Regions from separate parts of the Homo sapiens genome. Here region 1 is linked to region 2. The links are contacts of gene promoters, found by promoter capture Hi-C in human tissues and cell types (Jung and others, 2019). All regions are on one chromosome and are shown on one strand. Each heading gives the region's core, a stretch centred on a gene start or on the middle of the fragment in contact. The rest is flanking DNA. Distances are from core to core; before and after follow the strand shown.

What was found. The method cuts DNA at HindIII sites, captures the fragments that hold promoters and counts their contacts. A contact is called where the count stands out against the background at its distance.
Region 1: a contact is called between a fragment that was not itself captured here and the fragment with the promoter of PBX3 in region 2, in 1 of the 25 tissues and cell types used here (IMR-90 fibroblasts).

Annotation. Positions count from the first base shown.
Region 1 is chr9:126,812,935-126,817,117 of GRCh38, reverse strand. All of the region lies in intron 2 of ZBTB43 (zinc finger and BTB domain containing 43), which reads right to left. Among named protein-coding and RNA genes, the nearest start is that of ZBTB43, 10 kb to the right of the region's middle. The HindIII fragment of the contact is 6,307 bases long and covers 1-4,183 here.
Region 2 is chr9:125,743,966-125,748,684 of GRCh38, reverse strand. It overlaps PBX3 (PBX homeobox 3), which reads right to left and starts at 1,312. Exons shown (of 9, transcript NM_006195.6): 1 at 1,032-1,312; 2 at 62-135. The coding sequence starts at 1,231. PBX3-DT (PBX3 divergent transcript) reads left to right here and starts at 2,756. Exons shown (of 2, transcript NR_122032.1): 1 at 2,756-3,269. RefSeq lists silencers at 338-677, 948-1,477, 1,488-1,537, 1,788-2,217. The HindIII fragment of the contact is 5,465 bases long and covers 1-4,581 here.

The DNA of each region.
Region 1 (4,183 bases), core at 1,159-3,658, 1.1 Mb before region 2:
AAAAAAAAAAAAAAAAAGATACAGTGGAAATGGGGCCAAGTTGAAGGGAAACACTGGCCTGAAACTCCACGTCCTATTCCAGGCAATTCTGACGGGATCAGTAACACTCTTTCACTTGGGAGTCCCAGAGCTAAAAGCCAAGGACAGACAGGTCCTGCAGACTGGCAAAACTCAGAGGTGGGTGGTATTAGGATACCAAAGGTTGCACATTACCTTGGCAGAAGGAAAAAATATTAACATAAGGGGGTGGGACTCCGTAGCCCCAGGAAGGAGGTAAAGGCATAGCCATCATTTGCCAGTTGGGCCAAAGACAACAGAGGGTCCTAGTATCCCAATTTCACCAACTGCAAAGAAAGTACACAGAGCTCAAGCTCCCCTGAGAGGGCCTAAGGCCTACCCCTCCAGCCCCACTCAACTAATCCCAGATGTCAATGTGGTTCAGCCCTGCATCTAGCTTAAGAACTAAGAGCTGATTCTAACAATATTCGGGTATACAACAAGGGACCCAAAAGCAAATTTCAGACCTGAACAGAATGTTTCCCTCTCAAGAATTAAACAAAATAAAACCAACACAGGTCTGTGGATATATTCCAGAATATCAAAAAGAAAAAATAGCAAGAAATAGACAAAGAGTACATTTTAAACAATTTTTAAAATGTTTTTCACAAACTTCATGAAAACACAGTCTCTGAATAAAGTATAAGGAAGATGAGACAAAACAGTAGAATGATATGAAAAAAGGGCAGACTGAATTAATGATAGGGTATCAGGAAACTAATATAGAGCAGAAATTTACACAGGCAATAAGAAGCAGAATTACAACAGTAAAAAAATGGAATCGATAATGTGGAAGGCACTTTGGGGACCTTCTACTAAAATACAAGAAAGTGAAAACAGCGAGAGAGAAGATGATAAAGCAGGAGAACAGAGAAGAGAGATCGATGTACAGCCCGTTAATGTCCTTGAGAGAAAGAACCAGAGAACGTGAAATAATAAAAAATAAATTTAATTGAAGAAAACTGCCCTGAATGGAAAACCTTGAGTATTCAGAAAAGCCTTACCTCAGTAGTGGGGACAAATTAATTCCAGACAAAATGCAGTTCTGGTCCTGCCAAACAAAGCTTAAAAACAAGCCTCAGAAGGATCAAACTGTTTCTAACTTAATTATGTTCCAGAATGAAACTTGAGAACATTTACATAATACAAAAATATCCAGCACCGAACAAGGTAAAACTCATATCTGACATCAAATTTAAAAATCACCAGGCATGCCAAGAACTAGGAAAATATAACCCAGGATACTGAGGTGGGGGTGGGAATCAATCAACAGAAACAGATCCAGAAATGACAGAAGATTTATACAACTGGTAAACAATTCTATATTCTATATTTTCAAGAAAGTAGAGGAAAGATTAAGCATGTTAGGTACAGACAGGGAAACTATTGAAAAAAAAAAAAAGAGAGAGAGAGAGAGACCCAAATAAAACATCTAGAAATTTAAAAAACAAACATACATTGGGATGAGAATAACAACAGAATTGACACTGCAGAACATTAGTGAGCTTGAAAACATGGCAACAAAAACTTACCCAAAATAAAACATACAGAGGAAAAAAAAAGGCAAATAAAAAGGGAATAGAGTATCAGTGAGCTGTGAGACAACTTCCAGATACCTAATGTAGACATGATTGTTGTGGGGAAGGCAAAAAGTTTTATGTGATAAGCTATCAGACACATGAAAACTATATATATATATATATTTTTATATATTGAAAACTATATATATAGTTTTATATATTGAAAACTATATATATAGTTTTATATATTGAAAACTATATATATATAGTTTTATATATTGAAAACTATATATATATAGTTTTATATATTGAAAACTATATATATAGTTTTATATATTGAAAACTATATATATAAACAATACACACATACACACATACATTTTATACATATGTGAAAACAACAGCCAAAACTTTTTCAAATTTGATGAAAACTACGAACTCACAGACCTAAGCAGCTCAACAAACTCCAAGCACAAGAAACATGAAAAAAACTACAGCAAGGCACATCATAATCAAATCACTTAAAATCAGTGGAGAAAATCTTAAAAGCAGCCAGACAAAAAAAAGGCCCCTTGTGTACAGAGAACCTCAGAAGCAATGCAAGCCAGGAGACAGGAGACCATTTTAAAATACTGAAATGAAGGTGGGGGAGGGGGCGGAAAGGCCTGTCAACTTAGAATTCTATACCCATGAAAGTATCTTCAAAGTGAAGGCAAAATACTTTTTCTTTCTTTCTTTCTTTCTTTTTTAGACAGAGTCTTGCTCTGTTGCCCAGGCTGGAGTACAGTGGTGCAATCTCAGCTCACTACAAGCTCCGCCTCCTGGGTTCACACCATTCTCCTGCCTCAGCCTCCCAAGTAGCTGGGACTACGGGCATCCACCACCATGCCCGGCTAATTTTTTGTATTTTTAGTAGAGACAGTGTTTCACTGTGTTAGCCAGGATGGTCTCGATCTCCTGACCTCGTGATCTGCCCACCTCGGCCTCCCAAAGTGTTGGGATTACAGGCGTAAGCCACCGCGCCCGGCCCAAAATACTTTTTCAGACATAGAAAAGTTGAAAGAATTTATCACCAAAAAGGTCAAAAGTTTAAAAAAAAAAAAGTCACATGAAAACAAAAGTCAAGCAACACAATACTAATATCAAAGTAAATTTCAATGTAAATTTACTTTGTAAATTTCATCTGTAAAATTTTTACAGATGTAAAATTTACATTTTACAGATGTAAATTTCATCTGTAAAAATTTTACAGATGTAAATTTCATCTGTAAAAATCAGGATGAAAGTTTATTGTTAACTGATGAAACCTATAATTCACAATGAAGTTTACTCTGTGAACTTTTATGTGTCAGAGTACAATGTTAGAAAATAAGGCAACAGTAACAGAACTGTAATTGTAGCAGGAAATATAAGTATCCCTCTTTAATTCTTAATAAATCAAGTAGGCAAAGGACAAGAATCTATAGGTTTAGACAGCTATCAATAAAGCTAATTTAATGCAATACCTATATACTCTACAAATAATACTCCTTTTCTACTGTCTGTAGGACATTTACAAAAATGATAATATACGTGGCTACAGAGAACATCAATAAATTCTCCAAAGCGGAAATGCACAGGGCACATTTGATTACATGTGACTATACAATGGATTACACAATATGATAAAACTAGAAATGTAAAAAGTAGAGGGGGAGAAGAGGACAAGGCAATAGGGTAGGAGAAAATTCATAAATTTTATACAAAACTCTGGTATCAAAATTGGCCAACAACAAAAAAAACCCTACAAGCCAATCTCACTTATTAACATAGAAAGAAAAATTATAAATCACATGGCATTCTGGTTTGTATACTTTAATCTCTTGCGGGTTTGGTACATCATAAGTATGATATGTTGAAGACACTGAGTTATTGGTCCAATCACACTAACGGCAAGATCCTAGATTATGGTGAAATTACCATCAGAAAGCCATTTCAGATCTCCCTCGGCTCTCTTTCACTCAAGACTAACCCTGGTGACACACACATCATTACTTGTGCTTCCTTCTATGAGTGACAATGAGTGATGGGAGATAAATCTAGAAAAAGCCGAATGAGACGTCTACATTGGGGCAGCACTGAAAACTTCTAAGTGACGTGCTGTGAGGCATGGTTAAGGAAGGTTGATCTGCTGACGGACTAAAGCAGGAGAAAGTCTGAAGTAGAAGCTAATTATAGGATTTCAATAAGTGTAGTCTAGGTAGTAATAAAAGTAACAGTGGGGCCAGGCATGGTGGCTCACGTCTTTTATCCCAGCATTTTGGGAGGCTGAGGCACGTGGATCACTCGAAGTCAGGAGTTCCAGACCGGCCTGGCCAACATGGTGAAACCCTGTCTCTACTAAAAATACAAAGTTAGCCGGGCGTGGTGGCACACATCTGTTATCCCAGCTATTCGGGAGGCTGAGACAGCAGAACTGCTTGAACCTGGGAGGCGGAGGTTGCAGTGAGCCGAGATCATGCCAAAGCACTCCAGCCTGGGCAACAAGAGCAAAACTACATCTCAAAAAAAAGAAAAAAAAAAAAAGTAACAGTGGGTATGGAAAAGGGGTGGCATTGATGAGACTG
Region 2 (4,719 bases), core at 63-2,562:
GGAGTAGCTCCGACCCCCACCTCGGGGGTCTCCAGGCCCACTGCGGGGCGCAGCGTCTTACCTGTTTTCTCTTTGATCTCACACAGGACGCTGAAGAGCGCTGGTTTCATTCTGTGACAGTTCAGGGCATGTTTCCTAAAAAACAAATAACGAAACACAAAGGTATTAGCATCACCTATGGAATAATATGGCGCCTTCCTTTAAGTTAGACCCAAGATTTAATTCCAGCCCCCCATTCTGGAAGGCCCTTTTGAACCGTGGGAAGTCAACAAAAACTCCAGTTGACTAGTTCCCGACAGCCAGCAAGCCCCGGCGGCGAAAGCTGCAGCCGGAACAAGGCGGACCCATCTGCCCGGCAGGCAGCAGCCTCGGCCACTGCAGACGCGACGCGAACCCGCGCGGGGAGCCTCGCCCCGGGGGCAGGCGAAGGCGACCCGGGGGAGGGGACGGGTGCGGAGGGGCTCCCGCGTCCGCTCCTGTGCAGAGGAGGCCGGCCGACTGCGGCCAGCGGGAGGGTGACAGCTCGGCAAAGTTTGCAAGGCGGCCCTCCCTCTCCGAGAACTTGGCCGTCCGCACCCGGACCCGCCAGGGAACCGCCCATCGCCCCGCGCCGGGCCCGGGTGGCCGCCCGCATCGCGAGGTCGTCCCGCGGCCGCGGGAGCCGGCGCCGGGACTCCCCGCCGGAGGAGAAAGTTACACTTCCCGGCGGCGCGGCCCGCACGGGGTCGGGGCGGGAGGTTTAAATCCCTGGGAGGGGGCCGGGCTGCGAGGGGCAGGACGGGGGAAAGGACGCCACGGAATCCGCGCCGCACCGAGTCCGTCCCGAGCCCCCCAGAGCAACTTTGCCGACTCCCGCCCGCTTCGGGGGGCGCGGGCAAGTCCCCCCGAGGCCGGGGCGGGCGGCCGGCTTTCGGAGAAAGTTCCCCGCCGGGGGCTGCGGCCCTAGCCCCGGGCGCCACCCCGGGCCTCGACTCGGCCGCGGGCCCGGCTCCCGCACACACACAAAAGATGCTTAATGAGACGACACCAACTTTGCTTGCGCCTCGTCCAAGCTCTGGTCGGTGATGGTCATGATCTGGTGGAGGATGTCGCCGATGTCCTGCTTCCTGCCGTCGCCGTCCGCCCCTTCGTGGCCGTGCGGGGGAGGCGGCAGGGCCATGCCCCCCTGCACCGAGTGGCCAGCCAGGTTCACCCCGGCCAGAGTCTGCAGCATCCTGGATTGATCGTCCATCCCGCCGCGCGCGGGCGGGAGCGGGCGGCGGCTGAGGCGAAGGCTGAGGCGGCGGCGGCGGCGGCGGCGACGAGGGAGGAGAAGAAAGAGGGGGAGGGGGAGGGGGAGGCGGCCGCGCGCTCCCCGCCCGCGCGGGGAGGGGGCGGCCCGGCCGGCAGGGCCCGCGGCTGAGGCGATGAGGACGGGCGCCCGGCTCCGGCTTCCGCCGCCGCCGAGGCTGAGGAGAAGCGGCGGGCGGAAGCGCCGGGCTCCGCGGCGGTGGCGGAGGCGGAGGCGGCGGCGCCCGCTGCCCTCACGCGGCCGCCGCGCCGCCTCCTCGCCGCCGCGCGCCCCGCCGGGCGGCCCCGCGCAACTTGCTCCTCAGCGCCCGCCGAGTTGCCGGGACGCCCGCCGCCCCCCGCGCCAGCCTGCGCACTGCCCTCCTCGGCCGCCGCCGCCGCCTCGGCCAGGCGGGATCCGAGCCCCGGCGGCCCCGGGGGAGGCAGCGGCGGCGGCGGCGGGCGGCGGCGGAGGAGGAGGCCTGCGGGCGGGCCGCGGGGAGCGAGGGGGGGCGGAGGAGGAAAGTTTGGGAGCGGGCGGGCAGAGGCGGCGGGGGCGCTGAGCCCGGAGGAGGGCCCCGGCGGGCCGCGCGCCGGGCGGACAGCCGATGGATAGGGCGGGAGAAGTCGCCGCCGCCGCCGCCGGAGCCGCGCACCCAGCCAGCAGCCGCCGCGGACCGGGCTGGAAGGCCGCTGGGCCGAGGGATTGACAGGCTGCCAGTGCCACTCACTCACTGCGGCCCCGCGCCGGGGGGAGGGACGGGGGCTGGCAAGGGCGGGGGAGCGCTCCTCAGACCCCGCCCCCGGGGCGGTGCGCGCGCTCATTGGGCTCTGCGCCTCCCGCCGCCGCCGCCGGCACCGCCCCCGGGGCCCGGCCCGTTCCCTCTGGCCTCTGATACTCCGCGCTCCGGAGTGTGCCGCCGGATCCTCGCTCCAACCTCGTCGCGTCCTAGCCCCCCGGGATAGACCGGGCCGGCCCACAAACGGTGTGCCCGCACCCCGACTCCTGCTCCATGCTTTTGGCAGTCATGGGAGCGGGGGGTTGTGTATGGGACAGTGGGCAACTCGCTGCAAAGCCAACCGTGTGCTCCCCCGCCGCGCCCGTGAGCTTCACGCCTCGGACAGCTCCTGGTGCACTTTCCCGCTCTTCCTGTCAGGAGGTGGTGCCCTCTGGGTACCAGGCCGCTCGTCCCGGGCCAATCGCAAAGCGCTTAGAGCCGAATGGGGCGGGACAGAGGCAAGAAAGGGTCGTCCCAATTGGAGCGTTCGAAAGGTTCTGGGCAGAGGCGGGGAAGCGGCGAGTGGGGGCCTCGCCCCGCCTGCGGTCGCCATGGTAACCGAGAGGGCGCAGCTCAGCGTTGGCGCCAGCACCGGGGTCTTGTGCTGTCCCTCAATGGGTGACCAGTTAAGGTGGGAACCTGTGGTCTCACATACTTGAAGTCTGAGCTGAGTGGACCTGACTGCCATAGACTTTCCATTGAAAGGGGAAATGTGTCAGAGAGAAGCGAGTCTGGGAGGAGGGAAAGTGCCTTCAGTCCAGGACTAATTTCAAGGTTTACAACACTTTACACACTCTGCAACTCCTGATAATCCAGGGACTACTCCTTTGGCAGCGTTTGCTATTCGATGCCTCCAGATGTACTGAAGCTGCAAAAACGAGCTCTTCATTACAAAGATACGTTTGTTTAGGAAGAGACTGGATTTCACTTGTCAACTTACCCCATCACCACGAGTCATTTAATGTTGGTAACGCCAGCCACGATTTTTCGTATCTATAACACCCCTTCTTCCATTGAATTCTACCTACAAATAACTGAAGGCTCACATTATTTTGGAATATGGACCTCCGCCTCTTGTGGAGACTTGAGATTGCTCTTAAGCTGATTTCCCAAACAGGGGCTGCAATGTGTGTTCCCGATTTTAGATTCATTGAGCTCACCCTAGATGAGTCCTTTGGTTCGGTGGTTCGGAAAAGTCTCTTTGTTCCTTCTCCAAACTCAGTAAGCTGTCTTACCTGAAACCAAAAATAGGGGTATGAGGATATGAAAAATGGCTCTTACTCTGCAGGGTTTAATGTAGGACAAGCAGTTCTTTAAATGCCAGATGGATTCTTGGAATGAAGCAGGCTACTCGGTTCCAGGTTCTTTCCTTCATATGTTGTGTGTACTTTTAAATACTCCCCACTGCAAAGCTAATAGCTAAGCTTACAGTTAGGCAAGCTAAAATCCTTACAAACTGCACAGCTGCTGAGGAGGGAGTTCCAAAAAATCCACTCTGCTTACTTACCTCCAAAGAAGAACCCCCTTCATGTTCATTAATATTCTCTGCTCTTCTATACCCCATTGATATGTCAAGTTTCCAATTCTTCTTTGAAGCCCCCATTATGGGTTACTTATAATCGTCATTGATTGGGTTTTTTCTTTATTCTTAATTTGTTTTTTAAAGCTGTCACCAAATTCTTAAGCATTTTTGCCAAAAGGCGCAGGAGCAAGCGGTCAACCTTTCATAATTCTCCAACGCTGAGGATGCAAAACCACAGAATTCTAACTGAAAGATGCCTTAAATTCTAAGATTCCTTCCAGCTGTAAAATTCAATAATCCTGTGACTCACTATTAGGACTCCTCTCTGCCCTCCTTCTAGACTCATAATCTTGACTAATCAGTCATGAGGATGAGGCTAATTAGCAATGGGGATTTATGGTTATTTCTAGCCCACTCCGAACAATGAGTTATGTAAGCAAAGCAACATATATAAAAATGTAAATAGGCCGGTGGCTCATGCCTGTAATCTCAGAACTTTGGGAGGCCGAGGCAGGTGGATCACAAGGTCAGGAGTTGAGACCAGCCTGGCCAACATGGTGAAACCCCATCTCTACTAAAAATACAAAAAATTAGCTGGGCTTGGTGGCAGGCGCCTGTAATCCCAGCTACTCAGGAGGCTGAGGCAGGAGAATCACTTGTACCCAGGAGGTGGAGGTTGCGGTGAACTGAGATTGTGCCACTCCCCTCCAGCCTGGGCGACAGAGTGAGACTTCTTTTCAAAAAAAAAAAAAAAAAGTAAATAAAGAAACACTTAAGCAAATAAAGGCAATTGGGAACTATGGGCTGTGTAAACACACTGGAACATAAAAACATAAATTAGAATTAAGAAAACAGTTAGGCAAATGCCAGCAATTAGGAATAAAACAACTTGTTAAATGTCTAACACCCACAGTTATTTTATGGTACACTCCTCTACACCCATGGTCATTCAGTGATGTGGAAACTTGATACCATAATTCTGCCTTAAGTGATTGAATTAGACTGACCTTCTGCTTGGGAGGCTTCTCTTTTTGTTGTTATCAGTATGAGTTGCAGTAGAAGCCTGAGGACCCTAGCAAGGATTCCTTCACAGGCTCATTGACAACTGCCGTTGATTTAAAGCATAACTTTTTTAGACTGGTTTCCAAG